4 separate regions of the Homo sapiens genome follow, and regions 1, 2 and 3 are each linked to region 4. Evidence: promoter capture Hi-C in 16 types of primary human blood cells and fetal thymus (Javierre and others, 2016). All regions are on one chromosome and are shown on one strand. Each heading gives the region's core, a stretch centred on a gene start or on the middle of the fragment in contact. The rest is flanking DNA. Distances are from core to core; before and after follow the strand shown.

What was found. Contacts are between HindIII fragments. The CHiCAGO score rates a contact against its expected background, and 5 or more counts as called.
Region 1: a contact is called between a fragment that was not itself captured here and the fragment with the promoter of GLIPR1L1 in region 4, in 2 of 17 cell types (neutrophils and total CD4 T cells). The highest score is 8.9, in neutrophils.
Region 2: a contact is called between a fragment that was not itself captured here and the fragment with the promoter of GLIPR1L1 in region 4, in 1 of 17 cell types (monocytes). The highest score is 5.7, in monocytes.
Region 3: a fragment that was not itself captured here is called in contact with the fragment with the promoter of GLIPR1L1 in region 4 in 1 of 17 cell types (neutrophils); the score reaches 7.2 in neutrophils.

The regions. Positions count from the first base shown.
Region 1 is chr12:76,056,937-76,060,911 of GRCh38, reverse strand. It overlaps NAP1L1 (nucleosome assembly protein 1 like 1), which reads left to right. Exons shown (of 15, transcript NM_004537.7): 5 at 633-774; 6 at 1,034-1,114. It also overlaps the pseudogene DENRP2. Among named protein-coding and RNA genes, the nearest start is that of NAP1L1, 26 kb to the left of the region's middle. The HindIII fragment of the contact is 7,125 bases long and covers 1-3,975 here.
Region 2 is chr12:75,969,818-75,973,873 of GRCh38, reverse strand. No RefSeq gene overlaps it. Among named protein-coding and RNA genes, the nearest start is that of PHLDA1-AS1, 59 kb to the left of the region's middle. The HindIII fragment of the contact is 4,874 bases long and covers 1-3,756 here.
Region 3 is chr12:76,015,885-76,019,762 of GRCh38, reverse strand. No RefSeq gene overlaps it. Among named protein-coding and RNA genes, the nearest start is that of PHLDA1-AS1, 13 kb to the left of the region's middle. The HindIII fragment of the contact is 6,475 bases long and covers 1-3,878 here.
Region 4 is chr12:75,331,701-75,335,992 of GRCh38, reverse strand. GLIPR1L1 (GLIPR1 like 1) reads right to left here and starts at 1,323. Exons shown (of 6, transcript NM_001304964.2): 1 at 1,091-1,323. The coding sequence starts at 1,264. It also overlaps a transcript of CAPS2 not described here. RefSeq lists a silencer at 1,477-1,586. The HindIII fragment of the contact is 15,549 bases long and covers 1-3,364 here.

The DNA of each region.
Region 1 (3,975 bases), core at 1,144-3,643, 720 kb before region 4:
CATGTTGCCCAGGCTGGTCTTGAGTTTTTGGGCTAAAGGAATCCACCTGCCTCGGCTTCCCAAGGTGCTGGGACTACAGTTGTGAGCCATAGCACCTGGCCCTAAAGCTGTTATTTTAAAAATACATGTCTCCTCTTTATAGTATGTTACACTTGTATTTAATAATGTAATTACTAATTCCTAATTAAATATGGAGACTAAAAAAATAATGGTGTGTGGAATCTTGTCCTTTTTCCTGATATGTCTATGCTCCCCTCCTTTTTCCTAATAACTTGTATGGGTGAGATATATGTAAAAGAAAAATCCAAGTAATCATTGTTCTCAGAATTAAGATGGTCTGTCCATGACTTCAGCAATGACAAGTCCAACACTTAACTTGGGTAAAGATTTAGGGTTGACAATATGATTTACATTTTGTTTATCAATTTACCCAGTTACATTTCTACTTTTGAAATATAGCCAGTGGATCAATGTATTTATATCTATTTGATTTTTATTTACTTTGAATCTACCTTTTGCTTCAGATAAAAAACCTGTCATTCACTAACTCCAATGCTTCAGTTTCAGTATGACAAAAGAAGTGTGACTTCCATTTTACTCTGATGCTATATAACTGATTTCTAACCTTTCAGCCTGCCTAGGGTAGTTAAAAGACGAGTGAATGCTCTCAAAAACCTGCAAGTTAAATGTGCACAGATAGAAGCCAAATTCTATGAGGAAGTTCACGATCTTGAAAGGAAGTATGCTGTTCTCTATCAGCCTCTATTTGATAAGGTAATGCTTTCTCCTACTTTGTTTAATTTAACATTCTAGAAGACGAATTCTAGAAACATAAGCAGACTTGGAAGAGGTTAATCTTTAGAACTCTCATTGAAATTGTTATTAGAGGCAGCACTTGGAGGAACTATCAATAATAGCAGTTAAAGTTGTGGTATGCATTTGTTAAATTTGTAAGACTTCTTAGTGAGAAACCACTGGTTTTAGCTTGGATGCCAGTGTTTTTATACAGCCTTTTTTTTTTAAATCATTTTAGCGATTTGAAATTATTAATGCAATTTATGAACCTACGGAAGAAGAATGTGAATGGAAACCAGATGAAGAAGATGAGATTTCGGTTAGTACCAACTTTATTTTGGTATGTTTTTAAGATGATAAAATCTTAGGACTTGTCAGAAATGTTAGCATTTAATGATGGAGTACAATATTATATAACCAGTTGTATTTTTTCATTTTTTAATTTTACGTCTTTATTACACGTTTTTCTATTACTTTATTTTTAAAAAACAGTCATTCAAGATTGTAATTTGCATGGCAATAAGCAGCGGTTTCATGGGTTCTAAGTTTCTTAAGTGTCCACAGCAGTTTAAAACACCACAAGTCTTATTTCCAATTTGCAGCACCTGACTTAAAGTTCGAATTCATCTGATGGAGCATTAAAACTGTCATTTTCTCTTGTGAAAAGACATAATTGCTATTTCCAGGACTGTATATTGAACATGGTTGTACATTATTTTTAATTGGTTAGTAGAATTTTACTCATGTAATTTATATCCAGAATAAGAACCTCTAGCATCTCTGAATGGCCTTCCTCTCAGAACGATGATGATTAAATGTCTAAAATGTATCTGGGGTGCCCCCACTTGACATTACCAAACATGTTTCCAAATAATCTTAGAAAATATGATTCTTTAAACATATGCATACCACATCTTTAAACATAAACATACCACACAGTGCACCATCACTTCCTTAACCATTTTCCAATTGTTCACTTATAACATTTGCAATTTTTTATTATAAATCATATTGTGATGAATACTTTCATCCATAAGTTTTATTGCAAGGCTTATTGTTTCTTCTAATGTCTTCTAATTTCAAAGAAGTGGCTTACTGGTTCAAACAGTGCACATACGTGGTTTTAAGGCTTTTAGTATACTTTACCAAATAATCTCCAGAATAGCTCCAACAACTCCTACCAACAGTATGTTATTGTGCCCATAGGGTGGACTTGATAACAGCAAAGCAAATTCAACCACAGATATATTAGATTCTCACCCATCTCAAAACTATCACATCAGAGAAGCAAGGAGACATATTATTGGTGAGGAAGCCAAATTCAAATTCTTTTAAAAAATCACTCAGCTTTAGATCAGTAAAATAATCAACAAAAATGGTCACCGCAAAGTCTACCGGGTTTTTCAAAAAATAAAAAGAGAGAAAGAGAAAGGCCAGGCGCAGTGGCTCATGCCTGTAATCCCAGCACTTTGGGAGGCCTAGGTGGGCCAATCACTAGGTCAGGAGTTCGAGACCAGCCTGGCCAACATGGTGAAATCCCATCTCTACTAAAAATACAAAATATTAGCTGGGTGTGGAGGCGGGTGCCTCTAATCCCACCTACTCGGGAGGCTCAGGCAGGAGAATCACTTGAACTCGGGAAGTCGAGGTTGCAGTGAGCCGAGATCGCACCACTGCGCTCCAGCCCAGGCGACAGTGTGAGACTCCGTCTCAAAAAAAAAAAAAAAAAGTACCAAATAACCAAAATTTTTTATTTGACTAAATTCTGTTCATGTATGAGCATGACAGTCTCTCCTGTTTATTTGACTTTGGCAATAAAAAAATAAGCAGCCTTGTACAGAACAGGGAAAATGCCAAGAACGAAGGCAGTCTACAGTTTTACTGTAGAATACATATATATATATATATATATATATATATATGTAGGCCTCTCTCCCTTTGGCCATATCTACTGTCAGTTCAGGCCATTAACTACAGACAAATTTTCAAATTCACTTCTTCTCCAAGATCTTCGATGCTGTCATCATCTACTTCTGTCTGTTTTTCCTGAATGACCTCAATTATGTCATCTGTAAAGTCTCCTTGAATGATAATTTCATCCTCCTCTGTTACTGAGGCACCACAGGAGAATTTTTGAGCAAAAAATCTTTGTGTGATTTAAGATCAATTTCAAAAGTTACAAGGCCACAACCCTTGTCACATATTTCTTTGCTCTGGGAATTTTGGCTATAGTAACCTTTTGTGGTACCGTCTTTGTTTTTTTGTTTTATTTGACCCCTTCCACCTCTCTTCTGTTTTTTCTTCTCCTCTTCTTCCCCTGCTGTTCCTTGACCTTGACAGATTCCAGCTTCTTGTTTGGGTGAATTTTCCACAGTAAGTTTTGCATATTCATTTGGAAAATTCTTCTCTAATCATTGTCTACATTTAGCAACATCAGGCATATATTCACAGTACTCTATTGGTAATGAACAGACTCCACAATAAAGGACTCAAAGTAGGTAATCAGCATCTAACTTGGCTCTGTTCCTTGGGTCTCCTTTGCAGTCAGCCCTATTGGAATCGGAAACGTCAGCAGCCATTTCACAAACCCAGGCAGTTGCACAGGCCCCGCCAGCTCTGCTCCCGCCACTGTTGCCAGCTGAGCCGACAAATGCAACTCGTTTCCCCGGCCAGGGCCTCCCTAGAGCATCAGTTGTATTTTTATACCTAGGAAATATTTTTCCTTTTTGTAAGAATGATAATGCAGATGAACTGTTATTCAACCTGGCACCACCATCTGTACTCAAAAAGTCATTATTTCCTTACATTTTATAGTTTTTTTGTTTAAGAGACAGGGACTTGCTGTGTTGCCCAGGCTGGAGTACACTGGCATGATCTTGGCTCACTGCAGCTCATTCCTGGGCCCAAGCTATTCTCCCACCTCAGCCTCCCAAGTTGCTAGGACTATCTGAAGCTACTATGCCCAGCTTAATCTACTTTTTTTTGTAGAGGCAGAGTCTTCTTGCCTAGGCTGGTCTTAGACTCCTGGCTTCAAGCAATCTTCGCACCTCAGCCTCCCAAACTGTTGGGATTATGGGCTTGAACCACTGAGCCACTGTGCCCAGCCTATTTTTATAGTTTTTTTGAGTCTCTGTTGCCCAGGCTGGAGTGCAGTCTCGGCTTATTGCAACCTCCACCTCC
Region 2 (4,056 bases), core at 70-2,569, 640 kb before region 4:
AATGCTAGGCAGTGTCTTAGACCCTGGTGATACATAACGATACAGACGAACATCATAGTTTGTTTTATTTTAAACAATTTTCATTTTTTTGCATGAATTTTAAAAACACAATTATGTAATTGCAAGTACTACAAAAAGAAGTTGCTTGTTTGTCATTGATAGGAATAATTAAAAAAAAAAAAGTCATATGTAAGACTCAATGGTAGGGAAATAATGTGGATTTTACTAGGAGATGGAGCAGGAACCTGACAAGAATAAAACCACATGTGTCATTTTCCCTGCTCTTGTCATTGCTGTTTCTACAATGGCAGCAAAAACTTGGGTTATGTTTTCATGGATATTAGTCTCTTCTCCAAGTCATTGTAGAAGCATCATTGATCTGTTTTTTCACTTTGCGTAAGTTACCAAATTTTTCCATATATCTCAAATAGTTAGTATCACACAGTGTTAGAATTGGAAAGGCCCTCCAATGTTTATCTATGAGGAAATTGAGTTTCAGATGGAGAGGTGATTTGTCTAACATTAGTGGCTAGTTAGTAGCAGAGCTAGTTCTGCTCTTCTTCCTCCAAAATGGAATTCCTGAGTTATTTGTTTTCCTAAGATCTATTCCATGATTGACCAGACTACACTATGCTGCCAGCTCCTGTCTGTATCTAACACAGATATTTACATAATGCCTCTCTTGACAATATAGTAATATATATTGAAAGTCTACTGTAAGTAAGCGATGAGCTGAGGGCTTTACACACATGATGTTATTAATCTTCACCCTAACACTTTAAGAGGAATGTTGTTATTGTTTTCATTTTACAGATGAGAAAACAGAGAGACTAAGTCAACGATTCCTTAACTAGCTTTAAAAAGTCAGATTATTCAAGGCCAGGTGCAGTGGCTCATGCCTGTAATCCAAACACTGGGAGGCCAAGGTGGGAGGATCACTTGAAACCAGGAGTTCAAGACCAGCCCAGACAACAAAGTGAGACCCATTTCTACCAAAAAAAACCATATTAGCCAAGCATAGGGGTGCACATCTGTGGTCCCAGCTACTCAGGAGGCTGAGACGGGAGGATCATTTGAGTTCAGGAGTTCAAGCCTGCAGTGAGTCACAATGGTGCCACTGTACTCCAGCCTGGGTGGTAGAACAAGACCTTGTCTCTTAAAAAATTAGATTATCTTGAAGAACAAAATAATGATAGCATTGAATTAAAACTCAGAATAAAATAAATATCCACGAGTCCATACTGATATTGATAAGTAATTGAAAAAATGAAGAGAAGGCACAACTTTTCCTTACAGAACTCTTCCTGGAAAATTCTAACTAATAAAGGTAGAAGGAAGGAAATAGAAACTCACCATTAGAATACCCCATTAATAATTGTTGCAGACATCAGTGTGTGGAAGTTTGAGGAGAAACACAATATTTACTCTCTCAGAGTATCTCCCTCAAGATTATTAATCACAAATGGAGACATACTAACTTGACAGCAGAAAACTCCAGCAGACACCACCTTAATTGAGTGATCCAGGTTAACCTCACCAGTAGTGAGATATAATGATATCTCCTAACCCAAAACGATACACTGAGAAGGGCACTTCACTTTGGTGGCATTCTTGCTAAAAATGTAAAACATCAATCTCATCTTGAGAAAACATCAGACAAACACAAATTGAGCAACATTCTATAAAATATTTACCACTCATCTTCAAAAGTGTCTAGGTCATGAAAGTCAAGGAAAGACTAAGGAACTGTCATAGTGTGGCGGAGACTAAGGGGACATGACGACAAAATGTAATGTGGAATCCTGTAAGAGAAAAAGATTTTGGTGGAAAAACTGGTGAAAATTGAATAAGTATCACTCCATGTAGGTATAGCATTGTGTCAATGTTAATTTCTTATCTTTGATAATTGTGTTATGGCTATGCAAGTTGCTAACATTAAAAGAAGCTAGGTAAAGGACATATGGAAACTGTCTGTACTGTTTTTGCAACAAATTTTTCTTTTCTTTCTTTCCTCCTTTTTTTTTTTGTTTTGTTTTGTTTTTGAGACAAGGTCTTGCTCTGTCACCCAGGCTGGAGTAAAGTGACATAACTCACTGTAGCCTTAAACTCCTGGGCTCAAGTGATCCTTCTGTTTCAGCCTCCTGGGTAGCTGGGTAGCTGGAACAGGTGCATAGCACCAGGCTCAGCTAATTTTAAAAATTTTTGTAGGGATGGTGTATTAGTCGATTCTCATGCTGCTAATAAAGACATACCTGAGACTGGGTAACTTATAAAGGAAAGAAGTTTAATTGACTCACAATTCCACATGGTCGGGGAGGCCTCAGGAAATTTACAATCATGGCAGAAGGTACCTCTTCACAGGGTGGCAGGAGAGAGAATGAGTGCTCAGCAAAGGGGGAAACCCCTTATAAAACCATCAGCTATCATGAGAGCTAACTCATTATCATAAGAATCATGTGGTAACCCCCACCCCCCATGATACAATTATCTCCTCCTGGTCCCTTCCATGACGCATGGGGATTATGGTAACTATGATTCAAGATGAGATTTGGGTGGGGACCCAACCAAATGATATCAGATGGGGTCTTGTCATGTGCAACTTTTCTTTAAGTGTAAACGTATTTCAAAATTGAACCAGGTCCCATTTAAGACTTACTAAATCAGAATTTTGCCAGTTCGTATGATCCAGAACTCTGTACTGTCCTGGGTGACCCCTGTGTCTGAGTTTGCATATGTAGGAAGTGGTAGGACCAGGATTTGAACCTAGGTCTGCCTGATTGCAAAGCTCTTCGCCAGAGCAGGCTGCCTAATAGATACTTGAAGTTAAGTGGAAATCCAGATTAAAAATATCAACAATGTTTGAGATAAAAACACTCAGTGAAAATTATTGTATTTTTATATCTTGTTCTTTTAAATATACAGAGATGATGTTTGGTGATTAAATTGAACTAAAGACTAAATCCTTCTTCCTGATCCTAATTCCCAAGTCATCTTCATTTATTTTAAATAGGCAGCGTAATTATCTCAACCAAATAGGCTATTCCTGAGTTATAGTACCAAAACTTGCTCCATTGTTGGTAGAGAAGAACTCAAAACTGTAATTGCAAATGTCACTGTTGTAAAGTATGGTCAAATCATAAGAATTTAATGATATATGCATTTTGGACTAAGTAAAAAGAGCAAAATCAAATTCTAAAGATAATTATCCAAGCGTGGTTAAAAAAATCAAGGCCTGTTTAATCTGTTTTCTCTCTCATTTGGCCCAGTTCATCTCTCAGATGGCCTCAGACCCTGGCAAGTAGAAGTTCTGAGCAGGCTGGAATTACCCACACTTGGGGAGATAGGTTGCCAAAGAGGTGTGGCTAGGAGGGTGATGAAAAAGGCTCTGTGCCCAAGGCTTCTTCCTTCTCACTAACTTTGGTGCCAGGCACCCTATTAGTGCCTAGAGATGTAGAGATGAATATGGCACAATCCCTGCCTTCAAATCACTCCTGGCTTAGTTTGGGTGAGAGAACTATGGATGGCTCAGAGCTGGGGATTGGACAAGTAAGGGCAAAAAGAAGGGAAAAATTGCTATTGGAACAAAAACTGATTCTCACCATTTCACATACTAGGAGACTGACATGAGTTACCCAGGTGTGATGGCTCTTTGACTTAAAAATTAAACTTGAACTACTTCTTTTTGAGTAGTCAGCCTCTCCTCCTCTGTGGCTGGGCCTGTGGTCTGGAAGGAGAGAAGGAGATTCAGAGAAAGCTTTTGGCTTTGCATAACAAAGCAGCAGGAATTGAGGACTGTCACCTGGCATCTCAAAGGCAACTGGGAATGAGTAGAGCGGTGTGGAAGCTGGGTGCAGCCTGTGCTGACTCAAAGCAGGCAATCTCCTCCGCGTTTCCCCAAATTCTTCGGAGAAAGGAGAACCTTAAAAGGGATGGGGTGAATGGACCCTCTGTCACATAGGAAAGTGAAGAATTGCAACATAATGCAGTGGAGTCATGTGCTGCTTGGGATGAGATCACAGAGGAGCGTCTGCCTAACTTTGATGGGGCAAGGGTGGG
Region 3 (3,878 bases), core at 985-3,484, 680 kb before region 4:
GCATTTAGATGAAAAGATTCATCACATCTTTTCCCCAAAAAGTATAAACTGAGATGGAAAGTAAACTGTTTAATTCCATAGTTTTAAAAATGGAATCATGGCCAGGCTCAGTGGCTCATGCCCGTAATATCAGCCCTTTGGGAGACAGAGGCAGGAGGATCACTTGAGGTCAGAGTTCAAGACCAGCCTGGGCAACAAAGTGAGAACCCGCCTCTACAAAAAATAAAAAACACAGCCTGATGTGATGGCACACACCTATGGTCCCAGCTACCTGGGACTCTGAGGCAGGAAGACCACTTGAGTCCAGGAGTTCGAGGACACAGTGAGCTCTAATTGCACCACTGCACTCCAGCCTGGAAAACAGAGTGAGACCTTGTCTCAAAAAAAAAAAAAAAAAAAGTTAATCATGTTTTACCCTTTTCAAATATAATCCACATGGATTAACAAAACTTCAGGAAACAGGCAAATTCACAAAAGAAACCAGAGTGTGTGTGTGTGTCTGTGTGTGTGTGTACAAATATATATATATATATGTATAAATATATATATTGCTTTTTATAAAATGTTAGGCAATAATCTCTCTCCTACCTGCAGAAATACTGCAGAAATACACACACACACACACACACACACACACACGCATATATATATACACACACACACATTTTCTTTTTTCTTTTTTTTCCCTCTTCTCTCTCCTTCTCCTCCAGAAGTATATTTTGAAATGGACTTATTTTAAAATGTGGTTGTTAGAATATATTCTTTTAAAAAAGCCATTTGAAATTGATTTTATCTTATGACTCCTAAAATATTTGTGGAATGTTTCCTGTTGCTAGTCACCCTCAGGTCTTGAAATTACCTGTGGAGTTGAAAAATGTTGAAGTGATTTGAATGTTTATACAGTTACTTGAGGAGGTAGCTGCCTAGATTTGTAGCCTGTGTAGGTGTTGGGAGAAATATTTTCTGAAAAGGTTGGTTGAGGGTAGTGGATCTATGGGCACTGGTGAGATCCTAATACGTGGAGTGATAAAAATTTGTTGCTGCCCTTCTGGGCAACTAGGTGAATGCAATTCACATAGCTCCAAATTAAACCATAAATAACAGTTTTTGACCTACCTAGGATATTAAGAACTTCAAACCACACAATGTTTTCTTGTGTGCTTCTTTTACTTAAGGATTTAACTTGGAGAAGATTTTAGAGTTTGTAATAACTTTTCATGAAAGGATAGGGAGAAAAAAGGAGCAGGATCTTTAATAAGTAGATGTACTTCTGCATCCAGCAATCCGGCTTTTAATTCAAAATTGTGTATGTGCTCTGGGTGATGCCAACATTTCCTCTTACATAAAGTGACCTTTTACGGGGTTTCATTCATAGCACTTGGCTCCCTCCTGGAGTCACAGTGCTTGTCACAAGGCAGTGGATTGCCTGCTGGTTCTTATGCAAGTGATGACTGGGAGGGCTGATAGGGGGTAACGCGGACAGCCTCTCTCTCTGACAGCAGATTGTCAGCATTCTTGACCCGGGCACTCTAAGAGCCTGGGAAAACACTTTGATTTCAATGTGGCTTTAAAAAATGATATTCAGTTGAACCAAATGACTGTGTAAAATAGGACCACAGGGCAGGCCAGGAGCGGTGGCTCATGCCTGTAATCCCAGCACTTTGGGATGCCAAGGTGGGCGGATCACCTGAGGTGAGGAGTTCAAGACCAGCCTGGCCAACATGGTGAAACCCCTTCTCTACTAAAAATACAAAAAATTAGCTGGGCTTGGTGGCAGGCGCCTGTAATCCCAGCTACTCGGGAGGCTGAGACAGGAGAATTGCTTGAACCCAGGAGGCGGAGATTGCGGTGAGCCAAGATCACGCCATTGCACTCTAGCCTGGGCAACAAGAGTGAAACTCCGTCTCAAAAAAAAAACACCCTGTTGTTACAGATAAATCAAAATAAGTGTATTAAGATAAAGATTTACTTCTCTTTTATGTAAAAGTAACCTAGATGTGGGTGGCCCAGGGTGGGTAAGGTGACTTTAGTTTGTCACAGATCCGGGTTCCTTCTTTCTTTTCTCTTCTACCACCCTTGGTACAGGACTTCTAGCCTCATGATTCAAGATGGCTGCTGGAGTTCCAGCTACCATATTCGAGCTCTAGAACAGGAAGAAAGAAAATTAGGGAAACAGCAGCTCACTGCAGCCTCAACCTCCTGGGCTCAGGTGATCCCCCTGCCTCAGCCTCCTGAGAAGCTGGGATCACAGGCACGCACCACCACACTCAACTAATTTTTAAATTATTTGTAGAGACAGGGTCTCCCTATGTTGCCCAGACTTGTCTCGAACTCCTGGACTTAAGTGATTCTCTCAACTTGGCCTCCCATAGTGCTGGGATTACAAGTTTGAGCTACCATATCCAGCCTAGAAAAATTTTGGAATCCCAATATGGTGACTTCCACTTAACACCACATTTGCTATCCAGGGTTGCAAAGGAGGGCTAGAAATGTACTGGCCAAATTGCCATCCCAAATAAAATTAGGGTTCTGTCAGCAAAGAAGGAGGGGAGAATGGTTATTGGAAAGGAAACTAGCAGCCTCTATTATAGGTCTTATTAGCCTCTACTTAATAGATAAGAAATTGAGGATTGGGGAACTGAAGAAACTTGCCAAATAAACAGCAGGATGAGAATTGTTATCTGGGTATTTAACTCCACTGCCTTTGCGCTTAAACGCTATGCAAACTGTGGCTGTGTGCTAGCACTAAAATACGATGCAGACCTCTCTCAGAGATGGGAATGCTCTTAAAGACATTAATTTAGAGTATTTTAGGTATTCTTTTTTTTTTTTTTTTTTTTTTGAGACGGAGTCTTGCACTCTCACCCAGGCTGGAGTGCAGTGGCGTGATCTCGGCTCACTGCAAGCTCTGCCTCCCGGGTTCACGCCATTCTCCTGCCTCAGCCTCCCGAGTAGCTGGGACTACAGGCGCCCACCACCACACCCAGCTAATTTTTTTTGTATTTTTAGTAGAGAAGGGGTTTCACCATGTTAACCAGGATGGTCTCGATCTCCTGACTTCGTGATCCGCCCGCCTCGGCCTCCCCAAGTGCTGGGATTACAGGCGTGAGCCACCGCGCCCGGCTATTTTAGGTATTCTTATAATTCTTACTAAGGTTTACACTTTCCTTTCTCATATGGTACTGTTGTAATGATTTTCAATTGGTCCTTCGTTACATCTGAACAATTTAAATAGAACAAAACTAAATTTCAAAACAGAAATACGTAGTTGCTTTCAGTGCCTTCCTGTCAGAGTCATATTGACATGGTAAAGATATAAGAAAGATCGAAGGTTCTTAGCGGAAACTGGAGCAATAAAGCCAGAGACACCATCAGTGGTGCTTGCTGGTTTTGCAGAAGCTAGCTCCCTTAGAGACGTCATGTCCAGCACCAATCACAGAGTCTATCAAAAGATCCAAATCAAGAAAACAGGAGAAGAATCTCAGGCTTTTCATTCATGCTCAACAAGAGGAGCATGCTTTTACACTATCCCGGGAGATTCCTCAAGGGTCAACAAAGAGTAGTAGAAAGAATCCTAGATTCTAGACTTGGCTTTGCCGTTAACAAGTTGTGTGACCCTGAGCACATGATTTTGCGTCTCTGGACTTTAGTTTCTTTGTCTTTAGAGTAAAGATATTCTTCAATTGCCCTGTTTCAGTTGTAATAGTTTACAAGTAGTGATTTCTGTACTCATTTGCCTTTCTTTGGAAAGACTACAACTTTGAATTTGAAGGACCTGGATATGACTCAGTGCTGACTCTCTTAAGCTGTGTAACTTTGCACAAGTCACCTAACATTTTTGAATCTTAGTTTTCTTACCTGTAAAATAGGTATAATAA
Region 4 (4,292 bases), core at 74-2,573:
TAGTCAATGAGTACAAAAGAAATATAAAGAACATTTATTATATTTAACCCCACATTTACTCTTTTTTATCATACATTTACAATAAAACTCTAAAGGCATCAACCATATTAATACTAATATTAGTATTTCTGAATTCCGTTGAAGATTTATTTCTAGTTAATTTATGCCTTGGACAACCCCAAGCTGGTAAACATTATATATTAAAATATCTTAACAATTCTGCATTAAAGAGATTAGTTTATTCTTGTTTCATTTCTGATACATATTTGAATCTTTCTCCATCAAAATATAATTTTCTTATACAGTAGACTAGTACAGTTTTGAACTTATTTTAATGCCTGAGTTGTGATTTTATAATTACTTTTGTTTTCCACTGGATAGAAAAGAAGAAAGCTGGAATAGATATGAGTTATACTGTATCTACATCTGCATAGCACATAAAATAGACTAATACTATCAACGTTTATGCTCATAGTGATGCATTTATAAACAAGAAAAAGTTACAATGCAAGGGAAATTTCCAATCATACAATTCATAGTCAAGTATTTAAAATTTTGTAAATTCTATGGATTATTTAATAATCCAATGCTTTTTATGCTTATTCTTCAATAGAGTACTGTATTTTTTTCAAATAATACTACACATGAAGTGTTGTTTTGATCTTGGATTCATATGATATAAAAATAAGTAAGAGAACAAGAGAATCTCCATTCCTGGGCTATTTCTTTGGTATCTTGTATCTTGGTTGTGGGGGGTGGAAATTGCTAGCTAAAAAATGGAAGAAAGAAAACAAAATAATCCTGTGTTCAGTACTTATAACTTTAGTGGTGCAACAAAGCAACTTCCAAACACTGCTCCAGCATCCCCACCTTCCCCGCAAGAGGCAAGGAACAGCTTCAAGTCTTCCTTTCTTGTTCACTCCTATGACTCTGGAGGAGACAGCCCAACCAAGGTGTGAATTTTTTTCTTTTTAACTGCATATATGTAAAGTCCGGATTGAATTAGTACAAGTTAAGTCCGTGAAATTTATCACCCAGATACCTCAGGATGAGTCAGGGATTTAAGAGCCCAGCCCTGGTTCTTTCTCACCATGTATTTCATGTCGGCCGCGGGAGGGTTGACTTTGCCACGCCATTCGTTGTGGGCTTCTATGCAGTTGTCTATAAAGTGTGGGTCAGTGATGGATGGGATTTTGGAAGATGTAGTGGCTACCAAACACAGACCCAAGATCCATAAACAACTGAATTTATTCTTCAGAGCCATGGAAGGATGTGGAGGATGCGGAGGATGCCCTGACTGCGCGGACCAGTAACGGCTGGGGCAACCCGATTTCCCCACGCCCCCGCACCACGCTCTCCCTTGGCTCCATCCTGCCGCACAGGCTCGAGCCCAGCGCGGCTGGATCAACTTGTCAGTGTCGCTGTGGGGAAGAACAGGCAGCAGGGTTCCCCTTCCACAAAGCTCTGAGCTACAGGGGAAAGCTCTGAGTCGCCCTCTGGTGGAGGGAATTTCAACCATCCAAACTGCTTTCTGTGGATCCAATCTGTAATCTGCAGAGCGCGTCTGGATTGTAATACAGATTGCAATATGCAAGCCACACAAGTTAGGTAAAGAACAAGTGCGGGATGCTGACAATGGGCCAGTCGAGTGCAAAGCACTATATATTCGTTTCTTAGACGCAGCTTCCGTGTATAGATTTTTATTGTTCTAAATAATCTAGAATCATATTGCCACTTCCCTCAGAGATTGGGAATAGAGTAAGAATAGGCAATTCTTATACAGTGACATACAGTGATCCTAAATTATCAACTTGTCAAACATTTAATAATTTCCTTCTGTTTTTTCGTCTGAAGAGACCGAATGCTTAGATAGATAACAATAGATGCTTGGAAAATGTAGCCAAGTAGTTCCTCTTGACAAAATCTTCCCTTTTTGATAGTTTGGAACAGAGCCACTGTATGGTGACTGGTAGACTCCAAGAGTTGCTTTAATTGATACACTGAGACTGGGATGGACAGAGTACATTTGATTGTCTATTTTACCTGCAATGCAATATAAATCAACGTCATTTGGCTTAATGTTTTAAATTCATTACATCAGTTATATTGATATTCTGTAATAAACCAGCATTTTTCCCCATGACATTAATTTTTTTTAGTATTTCTATGTTTCAAATAAATACCTTTACTTAGTAATTTGAAGTTGTTTACAATGCTGTTTAATTCAAGTGAACACGTACTTACATCTGCTGAATGATCCGCCATAGTCAACCTTGACACAAAAAACAAAAACCAAAACAAACTACTTTGATGCAGCTACTATCTTTTTAAAAATAAAAAGCAGAAAATTAGATTATAAGAAAACGAAAAATGCAAGGATCCTAATGGAAATTCTACTGGGCAATAGATAATATATTTCTAGTCTACTACCAGCTAATGGAGAATTGCTGTATATACTACTTTCATATCACATACATAGTCCAAACTGAGCTTCTGATATCCCACACCCAAAGACATGAACATATATACGTGTGTGTGTGTGTGTATATGTGTGTGTGTAGGTATACAGATAGATAAATCAATACAGTTATATACATCTACATGTGTCTATATATATATGTCTCTTCCTGGATATAAAGATATCTATAGGCATATACACACATACATATACACACATACATTTATATATGTAAAGTTCTCTCTATGTATAAATCTGTTTGTATACACATATATGTGTGTGTGTCTGCCTATAGACATATATACATCTACACAGAGAGAGATACAGATGTCTATAGGCATATATACATATACATATGTTTGTATACAAAGAGAAAGAGAACTTTTAAGGAATTGGCTCACATTACAGTGGGGGGCTACAATAAAAAATCTGAAGTCCTAGGTATGGCCCAAAAGACACTACATAATCTGACCATGGCTAGTTCTCTGGCATTCTCTCCTGGCTTATTCTGCATCAGCCACATCCATCAGCTTGATAAGGATGCTCTCTCCTCAGCATCTTTGCACTTGCTGTTACTTTTGCCTGCAGTGCTCTTTATAGAGTTCCCTTCAGTGAAGTCTTCCCTGATCATTCTATATCCCCTGTCTGTCAGTGCCTATCCATTTAACCTGTTTTATTTTTCTTCATTGCATTAATTACCTCCTGAATTTATGTTATTTATTTTTTTAACATCTGCCTTCTCTATCAGATTGTAGCCTTCACCACAACAGTAGCTTTGTTTTCTTCATTGCTACATCTCTAGCACCTTGAACAGGAACTGAATCTTTAGGCTCTCAATAAAAATTGGTCGAATAAATAAATGAGTTCTCTTTAACTTTCTAATAATGTTGTATACAACTGTAAGCTTCTTGAGAGCAGAAACTATATTTTAATTGTTATATATATGTATATATACATATGAGGGGCTCAATAAATATTTTTGACTTAATCACATAAAAGGAAATGCTGGGTAAGCTTATATATTTCACTTTTTCTAACACTGGGTATATTTGAAGATAGAAGGTGTTCAGTGGATGTTTGTCAAATACATAAGTGGCTGAATGAACAAATAAATACAAAGATAAAGTAAAATATTTTCAAGTAGTAGGTACTCAGTGAATGTTGGCTGCATTAATGAATGATCAAGTAAATGAAAATTTAAAGTTGAGCTTCAAATGCAAACTCTTTTGGAACTGCAAAACAGTAAAGGTTGATAGGGATAAGGTTAATAGGGATAAAGGTTAACAGATAGCTAATTTAGTTTCATTTAGTGTATAGAGAAATTAACTGCCTGTAACAACAACAGAAATTTCATAGAGTAATGAATTTAAAGATTGGCAAAAGTAGAGTATATATAGTCAAACATAATCCAAGATTATTGCTCTTCTAAGAGACGTTTTTAATAAAATGTCTGAATTGTATACATTATGTTTTTTAGATCATGTTCCCAATGGCTTAGACAGCTATATTCAGAAATACTAAAACAATTTAGGTGTAAAAAGTCTAATTGCCAGGAATCAACAAGTGCATGTCCTAATGTTATTTTCTTGAACATCTATTTCTGGAATGGCCAAGGTTAGTTGGTGCACCAGAATTTTTAAGTTCTTTTATAACTTTTTAAAAGTTAAATTTAGGCCGGGCGCGGTGGCTCACGCCTGTAATCCCAGCACTTTGGGAGGCCGAGGGGGGCGGATCACGAGGTCAGGAGATCGAGACCATCCCGGCTAAAACGGTGAAACCCTGTCTCTACTAAAAATACAAAAAATTAGCCGGGCGTAGTGGCGGGCGCCTGTAG